Linked DNA regions of Homo sapiens: all the other regions are linked to region 1. The links are contacts of gene promoters, found by promoter capture Hi-C in human tissues and cell types (Jung and others, 2019). All regions are on one chromosome and are shown on one strand. The core of a region is centred on a gene start or on the middle of the fragment in contact, and the rest is flanking DNA. Distances in the headings are between cores, read along the strand shown. Region 1 holds the start of TPBG (trophoblast glycoprotein). Region 2 overlaps LOC105377877 (a long non-coding RNA gene). Region 3 has its middle 300 kb from the start of UBE3D. Region 4 has its middle 330 kb from the start of UBE3D. Region 5 has its middle 340 kb from the start of TPBG. Region 6 overlaps LOC105377876 (a long non-coding RNA gene).

Region 1 (3,428 bases), core at 574-3,073:
CGGCAGGTAAAGGAAGTGGTTGCTGGCCAGCTCCAAGCGGCGGAGCCCCTGCAGTGCACGGCCCGCCAGCAGGGCCGCCACCACCATGCCCTCGAAGCTCCGGTTCTGCCGCTCATCTTCAGGGGGCACGATGTGGTTCAGGATCAGTTCCACAAGGGGACTGGGGGCCGAGACGCTGGCATTGCTGCCCGAGAAAGCGAAGGGACTGAGGTCGGCCAGTGGGTTGTGGCTGAGGTCGAGCTGGCGCAGGCTGGGCAGATGCTCGAAGGCGCCCGCGCGCACCTCGTCCAGGCGGCTGCCGCTGAGGTTGAGCGCGGCCAGCTCCGCCAGCGGCGGCCGGCGGGCGAAGGCGCCGGCAGGGAGCACGGCCAGCTGGTTGCCGGTAAGGAAGAGGTTGCGCACGTAGGCGGGCAGGTCCGTGGGCACCTCGGTCAGATTGCGGTTAACGCACTTGACTGTGCGCGCTGCCTCGGAGCACTCGCACAGCGCGGGGCACTGGTCCGGCAGCGGGGGCTGGGCGGACACGGCGGAAGCCAGGAACGGCGCCGAGGAGGAGAAGGAGGATGCCGAGGAGGTGGGAGAAGACGAGGAGACCCAGCCCAGGAGTACCAGCGCTAGTCGCGCCAGCCGCAGACGCCCGTCCCCGGCGGCGGGGCCCCGGGAGCACCCCCCAGGCATCGCGGCTCGCGTTTCCCCGGAGCTGGGCTGGGACGGCGCCCGCTCCGAAGGCTCGGGAGGCTGGGCCCGGAGGGCGCGAGCCGGCGGAAGCGTCTGGAAAAAAAAAACTTTCCTCTCGTGGAACCGAGGGAGTGGCGCCGCAGCCGGAACTTGGCTAACCCCCTCGCCACCGGGCGCTTCCCTCAGGGGCCGATTCCCCCGCCCCTTCCCTCCAGAAAGTACGCACGGCGGGTCGGGACGCTCCGCTCCGCGCTCCTGCTCCCGCTCCTCTTCCTGCCGCCGCCCTGGTGCCACCTCTTCGCCTCTTGTTGGCGCCCCTCGCTGGATCCTCTGAGGGACCTGGGACAAGCAGGAGAGAGGCGTGAACAGCGGTGGCTGCCGCGGCTTCCGGAGTGCAAAAACCGGCCTTTTCGAGTCTAGTCGTCTCCAGTCTGTCCCAGAGACCTCCTTCCAAAAGCCCGCCCCGGCCTCGCCTCCCCAACCCCTCCGGTCACTTTTACTCCGGAGGGGGACGCGCATCCGACACCCAGACCGCAAAGTCTTCCTTCTTCCCTGGCCCACACTAAATAAACCCGACCGGCCTCCCGCCCTCCGCCTTTCCCGAGGAGACTCGTCTCCCGCGTCTAACTTACCGCTTAATCCCCAATTCCTTCCCTACCAAACTTCTCCCTCTCCCGTTCCTTCCTGCACCGCCTCGGCGGAAGGTCGGCCTCCGGGTGTCTCCGCCCCCGCCCAGACCTCTCCACCAGGTCCCGGTTAGGATGCGAGGGAAGTTTCAGGTTACAGGACTTTTTGATCTCTTTTTGTACCTTCTCGCATTAGCAGGAAGTGGAGCTACAACTGTCGCCCCCCAGCCCGCGCCCCGCCAGCCCCTCGGATCTCAAAGGGGTTCAAGTCATCTCCAAAGAGGAGGGGAGAGTCTGGGAACAAAGCAGCAGTGGGACTCGGGGTACAGTGGCAACCCGAACCAACCCTACTCTCCACCCGAGGATGGGGAGGGGCCCCAACGACGCCTCCCGGGTCTCTCCCAGGCCGCGGGCTCCCACTGCTCACCTCCGCGTCCGCCGCCTCCAGAACCAACTCTGAGTTCCACCAGAGTAGCGACGACTTCCCGGCTCCGCGTTGCGGGCGCCGACTCTCTTCGCACCCCAGCCCCTGGCCCAACCTCCCAACCTCCGCAGCTGGGAAAAACCAACCCGGGGGGCGGGGGAGGGCCAGGACTGTCGGGGAGATTCCCGACGCGCGGCCAACCTCGGCAGCCGTAGGTAGGGGGATTTAAGAAGAGAGACTAGGGGAGCTGGGCTGCGCGCCTCCTCCTGGTGGAAATTAACGAGGAATGTGCCGGAAAAGGTGAGGGAATCCCTTTCTCTCCCCCCTCCCCGACATCCTTGGGTGGTTCCTCATTTTGCATACTGTATTTACCTTGGACTGGAGCAAAACCGCTGGTGAATCTCGTGGAATTCACCCTGATTCAGGCACCTTTGGCAGTGACGAGATAGATTTAGGCATGACAGAGCAGCGCGAAGCAGCAGCAGAAAGAAATGAGCTGAAAATCTACTGCGGCAGCAGCAAAGGCACGGCAGGTTGTATGGAAGCTTCAGAAGCTCTCCCCATCAAAGTGGTACTTGAGGCCGCAAACTTCAGATTTAGGTGTAATTAATGCCTTCCCGCCTGTCCCCCCCGCCCCCTCACTTCTTGGGTAGTGATGGAACTTGTGAAGAGAGCGCGCCAACTTTAAGAGAGAGAGAGAGAGAAAGAAAAAAAAAAGATTAGTGGAGAGGAGATTCATTCCTGATTCATTAGCTTTTCTCTTACCAAAATTAAAAGCAGATGGAAGAGAAAGGCAGCCAAAGGCATCCCAGAAACAAAAGGCAAATAGCAAAGACTTGAGTCTCCCGGAAAGCGGACCCGCCCCCCTCCCCAGATGTAGCGCGGTGTGTCAAGTCACTTCTGTGGAGAAAGCTCCAAGGATGAGGAGTGGGGATTGCAGGAGCTGACCTGGGAGAGAAGTTTGGTTTCAAAGTCGATTGTCCCAGGGGGCATCTGGCAGATGGTGATGGAGAGGATGGGGTTGGGGAGAGGGACAAATTGAATGGTTGGTTACCGGAAGGATCTGTTATTATACCAGACAGGTTTTGGGTTCTGAAAGCCCTATCGTTGCTCTCTGTAACTCCACATCCCCTTTGTCCCAATTAAATAATTTCCCCGAAGGGATAAGAAGGTTCTTCCAGGCTTCTTCATTTTAGAGAGAAAATGGCAATTAGGGAAAACATGGTTCGGAAATTTAAGACCTGGTCGTATTAAAAAAGATCAAATAAGGATCCTGAGGCTTGTGCCTGGGACATGTGCCTTTAGTGTGAAGAAAGACCCCAACTCTCCAACGGACGCCTGATTACTTTTATAGAAAGAGATAGTCTGCAAAGCCGACAGCAAAAATGGCTCAGACAAAAGCTGAAAACACTGGAAACTGCAGAGATTTGTGCACAAAAGCTGGTTTCATTAATTTGCATCTTCAGCACGTTTATCTACATCTCTTTTCTTATTTTTAAAAGTGTTTTGCAACATGAATGTAAAACACTTTGAAAAAGAATCTCTAAAGCTGTAGTCATGTTCTGTATCCGGATTGTGGTGGTGGTTACATAAACCTATACAACGTGTTATAACTCATAGAACTTTGTAAACCAAAAGAGTCAATTTTACTGTATGATAAGTTTAAAAATAAAATTAATTACTCATTGGAAAAAACCTGT
Region 2 (3,428 bases), core at 451-2,950, 460 kb before region 1:
AGTAGACAGAGCTAGAGAATATACGTGTGTGTGTGTGTGAATACATACATGTATACACACATTTTTATGTATATCTATTTCTGTATGAAAACACACACACACACACACACACACACACACACACACACAAAACTATGAGTTCACCCTGATACCTTCCAATCCAACACCACAGGCCTCATGCTAGTTTCCTCTCTTTTCATATTGGTAGTTCCCTTTTCTGACAGGGAGACACCTGGTACCCAGTATGCTTAATGTATTTTTTATTTGATCAGTTCTCCCAAAAGTCACCAATTTCTTATCACAGCTATCACACCCTTCATTGGGCATGTTCCCTCATCACCCAGCTCTGGCTCTGACACCCCACACAGGGTCCTTTCTGACACGTATACCTTCCTCACCCTCCTTGGGCTCTGATACCTGCTGTGGACCACTGTGCCTCCTGTCCCCGTCCTGGTCTGGACACCTATGTTATTCTGTCCTACCTAATGGCTTTAGAACTAAGTTTCTAGGGAAGGGAAAGGAATGGAAGGGGAAGTGGAAGATGATGGGTCTGGAATCACCTTAAACCCATGCAAACTATAGAATGGTATCTACAGTATTGTTAAGCATGTGAAAGTACCACATAACCCAGAAAGAATATATAGGGTTTTTTTTGGTTGAACTCATTGTACATGTTACTATGTTCTTTCTGTCACATATTCATAATCAATGCTAGCTTCTGCGTTTGACTCTCAAATGAGAAGAAATATACACCTGCTGGACAATGTCAGTTACCTAGAAAGTACCCAAGAAGGGAAGTGCATTAGGAGTTGTCCCATCTTGTGTCTGTGCTGGAAACCACTCTGGTTTTTTTAAGCAAGCAGTAACTCAAAGGACAAGTATATACCATATGTCTGGGACCTGTGGACACTGCTATCTTGGATTTGTAGAATTCTTTCTTAAATATTGTATTCTGGGGAATGCTCATATAATGCAAACAGCCTAGTTATACATGACAGCTACAGAAGAAACAAAAATTAATAATAGAAAGATCAGAAACGAATGCTATTTACTGTTCACAATTTTTCAAAACATGGCATTTTGCCTATACATTTATTAATGTGCTTGTGTGGATAAACGTGTATGTAGTGGAATCCATTACAAGGTAATGTTACCTGACAGTCACACTGGGCCTTATTGAATCAGAAATTTTACTGTATTGAATTACAATTTAGGGAGCATATTTTGACAGCAGTATTCTAAATCCATCTATTTTAATGGTATCTCACTGTAACAGTATAAACACCATCAAGTATTAGTCTTTAACCTCTATAGGAATTTGACATCTGAACAGATTAACACTAATCTTTGCTTGTGTGATTGTTCATTTTAGTATTTTTGTGGGAAAATATACAGATATGATATTGTATATAAAAATAGCACAACCAGATATCTATACAGAAATTAGCATAAATGAATCCTAATTCTAGAATTCACTTTCGTGAAAGAAATGAGACTCATTTCTTTCCAAAAGGACAAGTTAGATAAGAAATCCAATTAGTTTCCCAAATCCTCCTTTCATTCTCAAATCATTTCATCAGAGCTGCTGCCTTGGTACCACTGCTTGGATTGGGTAGGAGAGCCAAATGTCTAGCAGGCGTACTCAGCCATTCCTAACACTAAGACATGAAATATAATCTGTATTTATAATGCAGTTTGAAAACGTTTGCTTAGAGTGTGTTTTTCCCCACAAGGACAATTGCATTTAAGTTAAAAACAGCTGATTCTGAAGGGATGTCTTTTTGTTTATTTACTGTATCTTACTGAAAAAAAAAATTTCTGATTTTCTTGAGTTCTGTTTATATTCAAGGTAGTTGGAAAAATAACTATTTACTTCCATTACTTCTATTTCTGCTATGGAAACTGTTCTTTTTCTGTTTTTCATTATGCTTTTTACTTCCTTTTGTCCTTCTCCTTCCTGCCCTGTCTGGGTTTTGTTAGTTCATATCCTCTTTGGATATGGTCAGAGTCATCAGTGATGGAAAATGTGACTGCCAGAAAGTCTACCTTCATCTTTAAAACTAAATAACTTGACAGCCTTTTAATTTACACTGTTGTCAGAGATGGCATGGAACATATAGGCTTTGTTACTGATTTCTGACATTTAACTCATTGAACAGTGTGGCAAATGAAATCCAGGAACTTCATATTGGTAAAAAGACATATTAATTTTTTAATAACACATGTCTTTTAATGTTTTTCTTTTAAGGAACTGTGACTATGATCTTCTAGAAATGAATATTTTTGAGAGCTATAAGAATGTGTGTCTAGTCCTTGTGACAGACGACTTGTAGACAATTGACCAGTTAGAAAAAGCCTAGAAGCTATGTTATCTATAAATGCAACCTTCAAATTCCAATATTTATGAACAGGTCTCTCACACTTTACCATGACAAATGATGTTACAGGAGCTAATTAAAAATGACCAACTTTTAAAATAACTTTCATGTCTACAATTCTTTAGACCCTATGACTCAGGAATCACATTTCCCTTACATGGTGTTTGGTAAACTTCAATGTGTGTGCTGTAGTTGATATCCAGGATTAGCTTGTTTCTTTTAAATTGTCTAGGGATGTGTCCAAAAGAACATTTAAAAATGTGCCTTGTGATACATAAACAGTTTAAAGGTCAATGGAAATTTAAAAATCCAAACATCCAATAGAAAGTATAATGAAATAGCAAATCAGAATTAATTTTCTCTTATTTTTCATCCACATTTACTTTGGAACATAAACCTACTTTCTAGGTTAATAGATACTTACAAGCTAATATATGTTTGATGTTAACTGTTAAATGTATGATCATTTAAACTTTTTAAAAATCCTTTAAAAATTTTTTATAAACAAAGCTTTCTTTTTAGAAATCACATCCTTTTCAATAAAAATCATTTTTATTTCTTTTCTTTTTTTTTTTTTTCTTGAGACATGATCTTGGCTCACTGCAGCCTTGCCTTCCCAGGCTCAAGCCATCCTCCCACCTCAGCCTCCCAAGCAGTTGAGACTGCAGGCATGTCCCACCATGCCCAGCTAATTTTGTTTATTTTTTGTAGAGATGAGGTCTCTACTCACTGTGTTTCCTGGGCTGGTCTCCAACTTCTGGGCTCAAGCACTCTTCCTGCCTCAGCCTCCCAATATGCTGGGGCTACAGGTGTGAGCCACCATGCCTGGCCGATAAGCAGCATTTAATATATATAAATATATATAAATATAATATATGTAATTAATATATTAATAGAATATAACCTGTTCACAGAAGGCTGAATGATAATATAGCTCAGTTATGGCTACCATTTATTGAACATTTATGACACATTAGGCTCTTTCATATATCTCATTTAATTCTCATGTCAGCTCTACAGGTAAATAATATTATGTTTCTTTTACGGATA
Region 3 (3,428 bases), core at 335-2,834, 400 kb before region 1:
TAATGACAATATCTGCCATTATATTATACAGAAGAATTTCACTGCCTTAAAAATCCTTTGTGCTCCACCTATTTATTCCCCTCTTTCCTCTACAAAACACCTAGCAAACACTGATCTTTTTTTTACTGTCTCTATTGTTTTGCCTTCTTCATAATGTTATATAGTTGGAACCACACAGGATGTAGCCTTTTCAAATTGGCTTCTTTCTTCTTTCACTTAACAGGGACCTGTGTGGTCCCCATACATTTCAGGTTCCTTCACATCTTTTTGTGGCTTGATAGCTCATTTCTTTTTATCACTGAATGATATTTCATGGTATGGATGCACCACAGTTTATTCACCTACTGAAGGACATTTTGGTTGCTTCTAAGTTTAGGCAGTTATGAAGAAAGCTGCTATAAGCATTTGTATGCAGGTTTTTGTGTTAACGTAAATTTTCATCTCATTTGGGTGAGTATCAAAATTTTAAATACAAGATGTTTTAAAAGTTTCCAGTGCTCTGTTTTTGATGGAGAAATGGTGGGCATGGGAATGGGGTCCTCAGACTGAGTACCACCACTACTACAATTACTTCTGCCCGCTACTATCTATTGAGTAAATGTGTTTATTCATGTAAAATGCTTAGACAAGGGCCTGGAAGTTGCAAGCAGTCAATAAAGGTTGTTGATGTTATCATCATCATCACCATTACTAGGTGACTGGACCTTGGGCTAGGGGATTTTTATACATTATCTCTTCTCCTCAAAAAAATTCACAAATTAGGGCTTCTTTTCCTGTTTTACATGTGGCGCTCTGAAGCTCAGTGAGGGTAACATGTCCAATGTCACACAGCTAGAGTGGGAGAGCCACGATATAACCTAGGCCTTTCTGACTTTTTAAATTTTAAAAATATTTCCATGAGAAGGGGAAGGAGTTTTACCAAAAATGTTAGAGAGAAATAAAAATATTAATAATTAAACAAACAGTGGAATTTTTAAAAAGGCATTATTGAAATACCAAGTAAAAGATTAATTTTATCAACTGTTGTAAAAAAAATCCATTGTGCTATAATTACATGCCATGATCATGGCTCTTATATTGTAAATAGTTCATTATGCATATTTATACAAATTACAAAATGAGTTCTAATTATTCTCATGATGTAAATAAGTAAGTGGCTAAATGCTGCCTAAGAAACATAATGGAATGACTTTTCAAGTATATTATTCTTATTAAAGCAAAGGAATTCCATATTACTGGAATTAAGTTTTGCCTAACCCAAAGCTTAGCATTCCAGGCATAGCCACAGTTTTCTAAGTTGCCTTGCCTGTCTCTACCATTTCATGAAATTAATACATTTCTTTACTATTTTTTCTCACCTCTCACAGTCTGGAGAACTCTGCCTTTAGGATAACATAGTAGCTAAATGCTTAGGCTCTAAAGGCATAAGCGTGTGGATCCAAATCCTATGTCTTCCCTGTATTCCCTGTGTCCTGAAATAGGCTTGTTATTTCTAGGCCTTGATTCTTTCATGTGTTGCAGTGATGATAAAGGTATCTAATTAATGCATTGTTGTAAGGATAAAATAATGCAACATGTAAGTAAACACACACACACACACACACACACACACACACACACACACACACTCTTAGCATGTGATTTGGAACATAGAGAGGAATTAATCCATGTTGCTAATATTATCAAGGCCAGGTTTTCATTGATGTTCTTTAAGTACAGAGTGAAAGATTCAATACCTTAGGAAATGGGAGTGAACATGTATGAAAAACAAGAAATATTCGATATCATTCTTGCAGGATAGACTGTCCACTGAGTAACCTTATTTTTTTCATTTATTCAATACTTTTAAACAAAAATATATTTTCAGATATTTTGCATAGCACTAGGGAGACAAAGAACAATAAGACACATCCCTGCCCTCAGAGAACTCATATTCTGGAGAAGGAAGATAGACATGTAAATATATAAACTCACAAACAATACCATGAGTGCCATAACAGGGCTATAAACACTGGGATGCCAGATATTTTTTGTCTCCAGTGTTAGTAAAGGATGTAAGAGCAATTAAACCTGCTTATAGTCACCTGATAGGGACCTGCAGCTGAATTCCAGTCAATGCAAAATGAAGCTTTAAGGGGGTAGAGCCAATACTCTACCTATATAAACTTTGTGCCTCTGTCTGAAAATCCAGCTGGGAATGTGAATACAGAAGCTGTAACGCTGATGTACATAAAATGGTGTTAAACCTGATCTGGGCATGGCACGACTCTAATTTTGGTTGCTGATATCACTCACCAGAAAAGAGCATGTACCAAAACTACGTTTTATGCCTTTGGGACCTCGCTTCCAACCTTCATTAACCAAAAGAGCCAAATGGCCGGGCGCGGTGGCTCACGCCTGTAATCCCAGCACTTTGGGAGGCCGAGGTGGGCAGATCAGGAGGTCAGGAGTTCGAGACCAGCCTGGCCAATATGGTGAAACACTGTCTGTACTAAAAAATACAAAAATTAGCCAGGGGTGGCGGCAGGTGCCTGTAGTCCCAGCTACTCAGGAGGCTGAGGCAGGAGAATCACTTGAACCCAGGAGGTGGAGGCTGCAGTGAGCAGAGACCACTCCACTGCACTCCAGCCTGGGCGACAAAGGAAAAAAGGAAAATAAAAAGGAGCCAAATGACTCCTGGCTACCTTGAAACACAGCCTAATAACTTCATGTAGAAATGAGAAGATGCTAAAGCCCCACAGGCCAATTGTGAAAGATTCTGATATGGATGCAGACTCTCCTGTGAATTTCCTGGGGGTCATTTTGCTGTCTTACTCACCTTTGCATCCCTCCGGTCCTTGGCAAAGGTCCTGTCACAGAGATGCTCATCAAAAGTTTGTTCAATCTAAGTGAACTGAATTACTAGAATTTAAAGACTGGCAAAATAGTGACTTTTCCTATAAAGAAATTACAAGTAAAACACGAGAGGCTTATGATACAGAAATAGGAATCAACGCCCCTATAATTCAGTATTTTAAAGGGCTGTAAAGTAATGCTCTAGAACACCCCTTTTTGTTTGCTAATATATTTATTAATAATAAATATAATTAATAAATTATAGTAAATAATACTATGCTCTCCTTTTTATAGGAATACAATGCTAACAACTCTTTCTTTATAGGGAAAATGTTTTTATTTCTTCCAGAATTGATGCATAAGTGGATTGTTCAATTATTCACTTCCTTGACCAGTTCTGCTTCTTTTTACAATGAATTTGTTATTTTAATTTTTAAATTATAAAAAATGCAAAATTAATACTTACCCAAAACAGATGTGAAAATAAAAAATGAAACTCTTTCCCTTCCTCCACCTACTGCTCCTGATTCTGATCTTTCAGAGTACGTCCTTCCAGTCGTCTTCCTATACATGTATAAATGTATTTTCCTAAT
Region 4 (3,428 bases), core at 328-2,827, 380 kb before region 1:
CCTTTCTGGGGAAGCAGTGTCTTCTTCTTCCCTATCTAAGAATCTTTTACAAGTCTTTTAGGGGATTTATCTCTTTCTACATTGTTGTGTAGTTTATTTTTGCATTTGTCTGTTTTTTCCTGCTAGATGTGAACATCTTATATCGTCCATAACCCCTAGCATAAAACCTTCTATATCATAAGTCCTTGAAACCATTTATTGAGACTGAAGTCAATCTTATACTCTAATGTTTGCTATGAAACACTTCTATTCTTGGGGTGTCAGGGTTAAGTACAATCACTCATGGTTCTGGTAGCAGGTATTACTAGGGAAATTGAAAAAAGTTTATATTCTTAGATAGGAAAATGTGTTCCTCCAGAAAGAACAAAAGCCTTTGCACTGGGCTCTAAATCCATTAGGTTGGTGCAAAAGTAATTGCAGTTTTTGCCATTACTTTTAATACTACTAAATGCAATACTAAATACTATATGAATCTTCCAGTAAGTATATTTTCACATTGACATTGACCAAATAGGACATAGTCATGGGATAGTGTCCTGGGGAATACGAGTTCTGCTCTAAATGAAGAGGTGTGGAAACTGGGAATGTGCAGCCTGAGTGAAGAAAGCTCTTGCTGCCTTCGAATATTTGAAGAGTTGTCATGGTGATGATGAGGGTTAGACTCTGAAATGCTTCAGAGAACAAAACTAGGACCAGTGGGTGGAAATTACCAGGAGGTGGATTTCAGGCCAATATTAGAACATTCTAATAACTGCCACTGTTTGTCAGTAAAAGAAGCTGCCTGAAGCAGTCGTAAGCTCCCCAAGTGGAGTGTTTCAAATACGGGCTGGGTAATCTCCTGGCTATAGGAGTATTGGGTGGGAGACTGGGTGTCATGACCTCCAAGTCCCCTTTCACCCTAAAGATTAATTGATTTTATGGAAATCTGTATTTGGGCAAAGGGTGGTAGGATAAATATTCTGTTTTGTACTGCATTTTGAATGCTGACTGAGTTAGGGATGAAAAAATGTCAATGGCTTATTTCGTTGCCTTTCCCAAAGAAAGGGATATAAGCTTTCATTTAGGGATTTTAGAAAATCCATTTAGTTTGATTTTCTTGTCTCATGGCTTAAGTGCAAGAAGGTACTAGCTGGGTTTTCTACTTAGTGACAGGCTAAACTGTGTTTGCACAAATTGCTTCCTGTGAATCTTGTTTTTGGGTCCATATTTATAGGCTGTACTTGCTACCAGGGCTGTATTTCTATGTCTTGAAAATTGGTGCAAAGATGTTTTTGCTCTGCATGTTTGGAGAGGGAAGAGCTGTTTGTAATCTTGTACTAACCTGAATTTCTTGAGTAACTTGAACAGTTTTCACATTCTTTCTACACTCCTGTGGATAATGACATTGCTAGCTTGCTCCCATGCTGTTAATGTATTCATGTGTATTCTTAGGACAAAAAAAGTACACGGTGTGTTGTTGGCTGAAGGTTTCCCTTCATTTCCTCCTTCTCTGTCTCTCCTAGACAGAACAAAGTCTTTCCTGTTGTTGATCAAGACCATGTTTGCATTTTCAAAGTAATTAGCAGTAGATTCTTTTGCATTTTTTCTTTTTCTTTCTTTCTTTCTTTTTCTTTTTTTAGGAGTGGAGGTTTAATAGGAAGGAGAGAAGAGAATAAGAAACAGCTCTCTCCATAGAGAGAGGGATCTTCAAGTGGAAAATCTCTTTTGCGTTTTTTTCTATACTGCTTGCTGCTTATAGTTATACCATCAGGTGCATAGCTAGGATTTATACCCAGTATTTACTAAATCATTTCTATCAAAGATAGATTTCTATCAAAGTTATAGTGGATGTCTCCACTATAACTTTACCACTGGATGATCTGTAGTAGACATCTTCTCATTTACCAGGTTACTAGAAAAGCAGAAGCACTTCCTAATACTGATCTGAAGGAAACAATGTCCCATCTTTATCCCCAGCTCTGCACTATCTCTAGGCTCCCTCTTGAGTCGAATTCAAAGCAGTAAGATTATTCTGGAAATTCTGCTTGTCTCAGGGCAATTGGAAATGGGAATTGGCTTTAATTACATTTAAACACAAAATAAACAGTCCTTTGGTGGAGGGGCATTCTTCTTGCTTTTCACCTGCAACAATCTCAGCAGAGCAGAGTAATTGCCTTCACCATGCTTATTTCAGGAAAAACTTTCTCACTACCAGCAGTTCTGACTTAATTAAACTGAAGGAGTTAATTTGAGCTACAATTTGAGCTATTATGTATGTATAATTAATAATGTTTATATTAATTCATGTTAGATTTAGAAGTTTTTTCCTTAAAATAATTATTGAATTTTATAAAAAAGAGCTTCTGAACAAACAAAAACACCTCAGACTCTAACCTAGAAGGGGAGGGTATAGGGGGAAGGAGATCCTTTTGTAATTATTCTCATATTACAGCTCTCAGTCCTCAACTCTAGTTGGGAGTATTTGTCCTTTTCCCAAATTCACTAATAACAGAAATAGGAAGAAAGGAGGTTTTGTTGTTGTTGTTGTTGTTGTTATTGGTTTTCTTTTTCTTTTTTTCCTCTATCTTTGGCTTAAATCAAATACAGACTGAATTTTCTAGTTCTTTCTTAGGATCAGGGGCAGCCAGATAACACATCTTTTCTCTCTGCTCTTACATTTTGTGCTGTTCTCAGTGTTTTATTTTGGGCCTGATTGGTTTCACATACCACCAGATAGGCAGAGAGAGAAATAATATCCCCAGGAGGTCTCCAAGCTATTAGGATATTACTATAGAATGTCAGCACTGACATTCTTACATATCAAAATTTGTTCATGTAGAAAATGAACTGTATAAAGCCATCCTGATTGCAGTATTTCCCCTCCTCCAACTGACCGAGCCATTGTCTGGTTTACATTTTGATGCCATTCTCATAACTATTTATTCCACTAAATAAAATTTGGTAGGTTTTCTGTTGTTTTTTTCTCTTTTTTTAACATCTGCCATCTGCAGTATATATAGTTGCAACCTGCATGCATCCTACTTAGTTTCTGCAATGTAATCAGAGATGCCGTCTTCTTTTATCGGTATTGGATCATGTTACCTGAACTTTACTTAGATTTTTGTGAGCAAAGTTGGAAGCTCATCATCACCAACTTTAATCCTAAGAGGTCAGGCTTGCTGCCACATGGTGGCAGGGGGGGCTTTTGGGAGGACATCTTTAGAGTAAAATCCCTAAGGCTTTAGGAACTCTTGGTATAGATATTAAGCTCAGATTTATATGCTTGCTAAATAACCCTAGCTTTGCAAGTGTCAAGGTGGTTTTAATAACTCTAACTAAGGGGAAAACTCAGAATAAAACTTTAAAAGTAAAAGAACAGAAAGGAAAATTAAGATTTCTACAATCTGATTTACAAAATGAAAAATGTATCTTACTTAAAAATGGCACGA
Region 5 (3,428 bases), core at 359-2,858, 340 kb before region 1:
CAAGCAGCTAAACTTTCATAATTTGTTACAGCAGCAATAGAAAACAAATGCGCATATTCAAGTTTATATTCACATAAATAAAACTGACATTTCAATGTGAAATGACTTTCCAAAGGAAATCTAGATTTCATCCTCAAAACCCTTATTATTATGCTCCAGTGAGAAAATTTTCATGTCTTGCAATGCTGAAACCAGATCAAAATAAAAATTGGATACTTCTTCGATTTCTCTGATTACTTATGATCTTTCCTTGACTCATGCTGGCTGACCATATGCTCCTCTTATCCTTCCTTGGCCCTTCCATTGCCAAGCTGCCCTAAAAGACCCTCAGTTTGTACTTTGCCATTTGAATTATTTTTGCTAAGTGTTTCAAAGATTTTTATGTAGGGCAAGAAAATCTAATCTTTCCTTGAGAATTCTTGCTTTAATTTATTGTGCTTATTATTTTAAAAATATATTTGAATGACCTCAATTTGCTGGGTCTTTGTTCTTGCTTTTACACCTTAGATGAATTTGAATAGTACTTTGCCTTTGAATATAATCTTAGACCAGGGGATAATTTAACTAAGAAGTCAAAATGAATAATATTCATGCTAACATTATAGTACTACTCTCTTCATATGCCTATAGTGCTTTATAAGACTTAAGATTTATTCTTATCTAATATTTAGTAGAATTTTAATTTTCATTTAAACTTATAGGTCATGGCTAATGTCTGTCAATTAATATGCATATATAACCCTAAGTTAGTTAAGTCTGGCCATACTTATACACTTATATGTTTCTTATTAACCAATGATTTCTGAATTGTCATTAGACATTGTTCCTGTATCAAAATGACATTCTTGAGTCTTCCAAAGTTTGTGTTTATCTTCATTTCCAAATATTACTTTTTAGAAAGCATTCTTTTGATATAATATCTATTTCTGTTGGGCCTGAAGCCATCTATTTGCTTTTTAGCAGTTGCCTTGGTTAAACCATTCCACTGCTTTAGATCTCTATTTGAAATACTACAGACATTTCCCCTCTGTCTGTCACTTAAAAGCATTGAATACATACTCAGAAACTGAAAGGATAAATTAGGCTGCACAAATTATAATGGACAGAAAAGGAACAGGACCCAACAATACTATCTCACAAAGCAATTGAAACTTATTGGACATATGCACAAATTAAGTAAGCTTGATTAAGCAACATGCTCTTGTTTCTTTTTCTTTAAAGAAAAAAGAGGCATAGTAACCTCAGGAGATGAGCCCATGATATTGAGATTGGCTAACGTCACTACATGCCTTTTACCCAAAGAAGTAGAAGCAAAGTTTGCATGATATCCTAGGAAATCCTCGCTACATCTTAAAACATATTTTTAATATTGTGGTAGTTAGAGCTGTGTTTTCCTCATTGAGTCTCTTCCACATAGCAATAGTTCTCAGTCCTTTCAATCACATAGGAAGCTCCTAAGAAATTTCAATACTCATGTTCCACCCCAGGCTAATCAGCATTTCCCCCATGTAATTCTAACGTGCTATCCGGAGTGGGAACCACTGACTTAGGGGTTGAATTCAATATCCATTCATTTCTAAGGATAACAGGATAATACAACTTATAAGGCATCTGGTGGGTTTCTTTATCTAGCCTGGTGGCTTGCCTAAGGAATTCAAAATTTTATGTAGAAATGGTTCTTATTAATTGGACCTCCTGAAATATTAATGATCTCCTAAGGAAGGTTTCTGCTAGTAACATAAATACAGCTCATAACTTTATTTTTTTTTTTGCATCTTGTTTGGTGAATTCAGATTCACACCTTTGACCATTCACCCATACAGTAGAAAATGACTGGCTAAAGAAAATTAAAGTGATGAGTTCTGTTAACAGCTGATGTACATCCTGACAGTTTCTTTAAGCTGCTCTGGAGGCTGCTGTGTTCTGTCATGGGAGGTTTTCAGCCAAAGTAGTTAATTAAGGCTCATTAGAATAGTCAAAATTGATTGTCTGTTTTGCTTCCATCTCACTGTCTTGCATCTCCATTAGTCTTATAGTCATAGCCTTGGCTGCTGGTCTCAGTTTTGTTTGAGTCTGGCCTGCTTCCTACATAGTTCTGTCAATTTCACCAATGCCAGTTTCACCTCTGCCATCCTCTCTAGGCATTCTCATCTGGCACCTTGGCGCCCTCACTCATTTTGCACTCTTGTTTCCCAAACTTGCCATTCTCGCTCCTGATTCTTACTTGCCAAAATCTTCCTTATCTACCTTGACACTCATCTGTTCTATGCCCTCCACTCTCAAGCCCATGTTCTGTATCTATTTCCTTTTTGACCCTTCTTGCTTCTGTTAGCCTCCATTCACTCTGTAGCACAATGATGAATTCCTACCAAATTATGTGAAAAAAAGAGTTTCCTTTCATAAAAGTGATTTGAATCAAGCTTCTGTTTTTGCTATTGCTCTGAAGGCTTTTGATATCTATGCCTGCCTACATCTTGGCAAAAGAGCCCATTGGCAGACAAATAGAAAATTCTCTAATGCACAAAATTACACATACTCATAGAACACAGGGGCAGCAGGGAGCAATCAGCCTGCAAAATACGACCTGCAATTACAAATAATAATGACATATGAGAGTGTTTAATTTTTCATGTCTTATAAAATACAACAAGGAAAATAAATCTGAAGCTGAAGTCTCAGGTCTGGGAGGAGTTATGTCAAGCTTAATAAGCATCAGTCTTTGGATAAGTGAGGTTTCTAATAAAAAGGCCAGATCTGGGAACACTTCTTCAGACTGTTATTTTCTGCCCTTATGAGCAACATGTCTGTCCACTGTAGGACTACATCAAAAGTTCAGAGTTGTGGATAAATTTGAGAAGCCCTGTAGTTCAGAGCTGTGTCAGACATTTTATTGGGAATTTCATGTGCAGTCTGGCTCTCTGAGAGAGCCTTTTTAGCTCCAATATTATATATATATGTGTATATATATATACATATATATGTATTTACATATATACATATATGTATTTATATATATACATATATATGTATTTATATATACATATATATTTATATATATATACATATATATGTATTTATATATATGCATTTTGCATATATATGCATCTATCTATCTATGTATGTATATATTTCCAATTAGGTATAATTGGAGTTATGGTTCTCAGCTGGCTTACAGAAACAAGGGTATTTGACCACTTAAACTTCTAAGTAGTGAGAGTCCACATGATAAAAACAATATACACCATTATAAAGTAAACACTTATTATTTATAGTGATCAAACAAAATATTTGACTCTACAGACAACTAATAGAATTGAAACTACAAATTAGGGAAGTTCAAGAGTAATCTTACCAAGGAAAGCTATGACTTAACATAAATCTTAAGTATTAGTGTTTGAAAGTTTAAAAACCTTAAATTTTTGCAGAAG
Region 6 (3,428 bases), core at 420-2,919, 310 kb before region 1:
TATGTATACTAACCCATGTGTTCACACATATACAAAATCATTTCTGTATTTATCTATCTGTATATATTTTAAGTTAAAGATGAATTTACACTGATGTCTTTGACCCCAAGCCCACACCACATGTTTCATTCTGACTTCCAACTTATCTATAACCTCTCAGCAGAGAGAAACCTGGATCCCACTGTCCACCATCAATTTACTTATTTGTTCAATCCCAGTATAAGATTTTCTTATCTCCCTAGTTTCTAGTTATTATGGGTTCAAGTGAGATATTGGGCCTTAATCTCAGATAGGAAAACCCTTTTAGTTCTTTCAATGATGTAAACAGCGAAGCATAATTTGGCCACACTGTGAAATAAAAACCCTCAGCATGTTTCCTCAATTCATTGAAATAGATAAGTATGCATTAGCAGTTAACACATCTGTGCACACCTGGAATGCTATGAATTTTAATTAGGGATATCAGGTCTAGAGGATTTATGAAGGCAAGTGATTAAACAGGTAAATATAGATTTTAGTCATTCAACATTTCAGGACTACAAATTTTGTTTTTGTGTAAAACAGAAACCCCTTGGGAACTTTAGTTCTACTCATTACTTGTTTGCAAAAAAAGATTTTTATAAAAAGATATTTTGCAAATTTGCACAAATGAGATTTTATCCTTTGGGAGTAACAAAAACCAAGGTGAATGATACTGAGGGAATTAAATTACAAAATGAGATAGCATAGGTTTGGGGTATACTGAACTATTGCATTAAGAGTTGTTTGAATGCAGAAACAACTTAATGTCTTTCTGGAGTAAAACAAATTCAAATTTCAGGGTTTTTGGAAAAATGCTAACGCAAACATATTATAAAAGATTTTTCTATCATTAGACGGAAGCAGCTAAGATAATGACTGTGCTTCTGGGTAGGCCTACAGTACTTTTGGAAGAATTGATCATGTTCTCCATTGTAAGTTCTGCTCTGGGTGCTATAACTATATCAGATGTGGGGGTGTGATGTTACCTTTAGTGCAGAGAGATAAAGGGATAACATTATCAAATGAAAGGAAACCATTGAAAAGAGGCCGAAGAACACCTCTAAAGTTTGCAATAATGTAAAGTGTTGATACAATATGGTGTATAAGGTGGGACTATGATGCTAGGAAATGATTCCTTGAAACTTTTATAAAAAATATGGCTCATAGCCTATTGCTGTAATTAGTGATCATTTTGTCTAAAGCAATAGCCAGCTAGGTTGGTGAATGACACTGGGAAATTATAAATGGCAACATTAATTTTCTTTTTTTTCTCACCACATATCTGTCTAGGTTTATTTCTAGAGGTTTTATTTTGTTTTATTTTTTGGTCTTCAGGAAAGCTTTATTATGATTTATTTGTTTCTTTTCTTTATTTTTTATTTCAATAGGTTTTGGGGAAACAGGTGGTGTTTAGTTACACAAATAAGTTCTTTAGTGGTGATTTCTGAGATTCCGGTGCACCCATCACCCAAGCAGTGTACACTGTACCCAGTGTGTAGTCTTTTATCCCTCACCTCCTCCCATCCTCTCCCCCGAGTCCCCAAAATTTATTGTATCATTCTTATGCCTTGTGTCCTCATAGCTTAGCTCCCACTTATCAGTGAGAACACATGGTGCTTGGTTTTCCATTTCTGAGTTACTTCACTTATAATAATGGTCTCCAATTCCATCCAAGTTGCTGGGAGTGCCATTATTTCATTCCTTTTTATGGCTGAGTAGTAGTCCATGGTATATATAGACCACATTTTCTTTATCCATTTGTTGATTGATGGGCATTTGGGCTGGTTCCATAGTTTTGCAACTACAAATTGTGCTGCTATAAACATGTGTGTGCAAGTATTAATATCTTTTTCATATAATAACTTCTTTTCCTCTGGGTAGATCCCCAGTAGTGGAATTGCTGGATCAAATAGTAGATCTACTTTTAGTTCTTTAAGGAATCCCCACACTGTTTTCCATAGTGGTTGTACCAGTTTACATTCCCACCAACAGTGTAAAAGTGTTCCCATTTCACCACATCCATGCCAACATCTATTATTTTTTGATTTTTTTGATTATGACCATTCTTGCAGAATTAAGGTGGTATTGCATTGTGATTTTGATTTCCATTTCCCTGATCATTAGTGATGTTGAGCATTTTTTACATGTTTGTTGGCCATTTTTATATCTTCTTTTTAGAATTGTCTATTCATGTCCTCAGCACACTTTTTGATGGGATTGTTTTTTTCTTGCTAATTTGTTTGAGTTCTTTGTAGATTCTGGATATTAGTCCTTTGTCAGATGTACAGGTTGTGAAGATTTTCTCCCACTCTGTGGGTTGTCTGTTAACTCTGCTGATTATTTCTTTTGCTGTGCAGAAACTTTAGTTTAAGTCCCATCTATTTATCTTTGTTTTTGTTGTAATAAACGGCAACATTATACTTTCAAGTAGTGTCTTGGTGGTATCTCCAGTTTGGGACTTTTTAATCCATTAGGTTGCCAACACTCATTTCTGTTGGGAACATATTTACTGCCCATCTTTTGTCATCTCATAATAGTTAGGGTTGAAAGGGTACTTAGAAACCCAAACACTACTGGAGAAAGGCTTTGAGAAGGAAACTACCTGGGTTGGGTTAAGTTAAATTAGATAAGAATACATGAAATGAGCAAAGAAGATATATGTGAACTAACATGGAAATCTCTAACAGATATATTGAAATTAAATAAAGAAAATTTCAGAAAAAATGTATACCTGTATTAAAGGGAGAGACTAGGGGATCATGTGGAGAAACTTAGCCAATTTTTTTGTGTGGTATATTCCTACAACATTTGATACAGTTTTGAAACCTATTCCATATTTTATAATGGATGACTTATGAAATAAACAGCCTTATCAGGCTACTTTAATTTGGATAACCACAAACTGACTGACCAGATGAAACTAGTGCAATAGTTTGAATTAGTACATTCTCAGGCTGTGTGATTGTGTGCCTATTACTGATCTTACAGTCATCGCTTTGGGAATCAAAAATGAATTACAGAAATTAAAATACTGATGTGCCTTTCTAGCTGTTAAAAACTGAATCTTTCAAAAGTATGGTTCATCTTTGTTACAGTAAAAAGGGTTTTAAAATATTTCTTATTGATGTGTCATGAATCTGTCAAATTTGGTAAGTACAAAAATTGATTTTATTTCTTTATTCTCAGTGGTGAAATTTTCCTTTTATTATTTCAAACCAAGAAAATAATGTTTTATATTTTACTACTAAATACTTCCAAAATATGATGTTTACATAATGATTTCCTTTTTACAAAGTATTTGCACAACTATTATTTCATCTGGAGTCTCCAAACAAGAGAAATGTTAGGATCTAAAACATATGTTCTTAGAAATTCTGAAATGAAAGTGTCCTTTTAAATGTTTTATT

What was found. Contacts are between HindIII fragments. The study calls those that stand out against the background at their distance.
Region 2: a fragment that was not itself captured here is called in contact with the fragment with the promoter of TPBG in region 1 in 3 of the 25 tissues and cell types used here (heart right ventricle, neural progenitor cells and thymus).
Region 3: a fragment that was not itself captured here is called in contact with the fragment with the promoter of TPBG in region 1 in 2 of the 25 tissues and cell types used here (dorsolateral prefrontal cortex and hippocampus).
Region 4: a contact is called between a fragment that was not itself captured here and the fragment with the promoter of TPBG in region 1, in 2 of the 25 tissues and cell types used here (H1 embryonic stem cells and hippocampus).
Region 5: a fragment that was not itself captured here is called in contact with the fragment with the promoter of TPBG in region 1 in 4 of the 25 tissues and cell types used here (H1 embryonic stem cells, dorsolateral prefrontal cortex, neural progenitor cells and 1 more).
Region 6: a contact is called between a fragment that was not itself captured here and the fragment with the promoter of TPBG in region 1, in 1 of the 25 tissues and cell types used here (neural progenitor cells).

Annotation. Positions count from the first base shown.
Region 1 is chr6:82,362,212-82,365,639 of GRCh38, reverse strand. It overlaps TPBG (trophoblast glycoprotein), which reads right to left and starts at 1,823. Exons shown (of 2, transcript NM_001376922.1): 1 at 1,732-1,823; 2 at 1-1,017. The coding sequence starts at 678. LOC105377875 (a long non-coding RNA gene) reads left to right here and starts at 1,983. Exons shown (of 3, transcript XR_942738.4): 1 at 1,983-2,028. RefSeq lists enhancers at 1-310, 311-1,213, 1,365-1,876, 1,877-2,390 and a silencer at 263-342. The HindIII fragment of the contact is 6,837 bases long and covers 819-3,428 here.
Region 2 is chr6:82,822,137-82,825,564 of GRCh38, reverse strand. The region is part of intron 2 of LOC105377877 (a long non-coding RNA gene); the gene reads left to right. Among named protein-coding and RNA genes, the nearest start is that of UBE3D, 240 kb to the left of the region's middle. The HindIII fragment of the contact is 4,467 bases long and covers 1-3,428 here.
Region 3 is chr6:82,763,161-82,766,588 of GRCh38, reverse strand. No RefSeq gene overlaps it. Among named protein-coding and RNA genes, the nearest start is that of UBE3D, 300 kb to the left of the region's middle. The HindIII fragment of the contact is 3,848 bases long and covers 1-3,428 here.
Region 4 is chr6:82,737,497-82,740,924 of GRCh38, reverse strand. No RefSeq gene overlaps it. Among named protein-coding and RNA genes, the nearest start is that of UBE3D, 330 kb to the left of the region's middle. The HindIII fragment of the contact is 3,795 bases long and covers 1-3,428 here.
Region 5 is chr6:82,697,627-82,701,054 of GRCh38, reverse strand. No RefSeq gene overlaps it. Among named protein-coding and RNA genes, the nearest start is that of TPBG, 340 kb to the right of the region's middle. The HindIII fragment of the contact is 5,595 bases long and covers 1-3,428 here.
Region 6 is chr6:82,672,189-82,675,616 of GRCh38, reverse strand. All of the region lies in intron 5 of LOC105377876 (a long non-coding RNA gene), which reads left to right. Among named protein-coding and RNA genes, the nearest start is that of TPBG, 310 kb to the right of the region's middle. The HindIII fragment of the contact is 3,199 bases long and covers 70-3,268 here.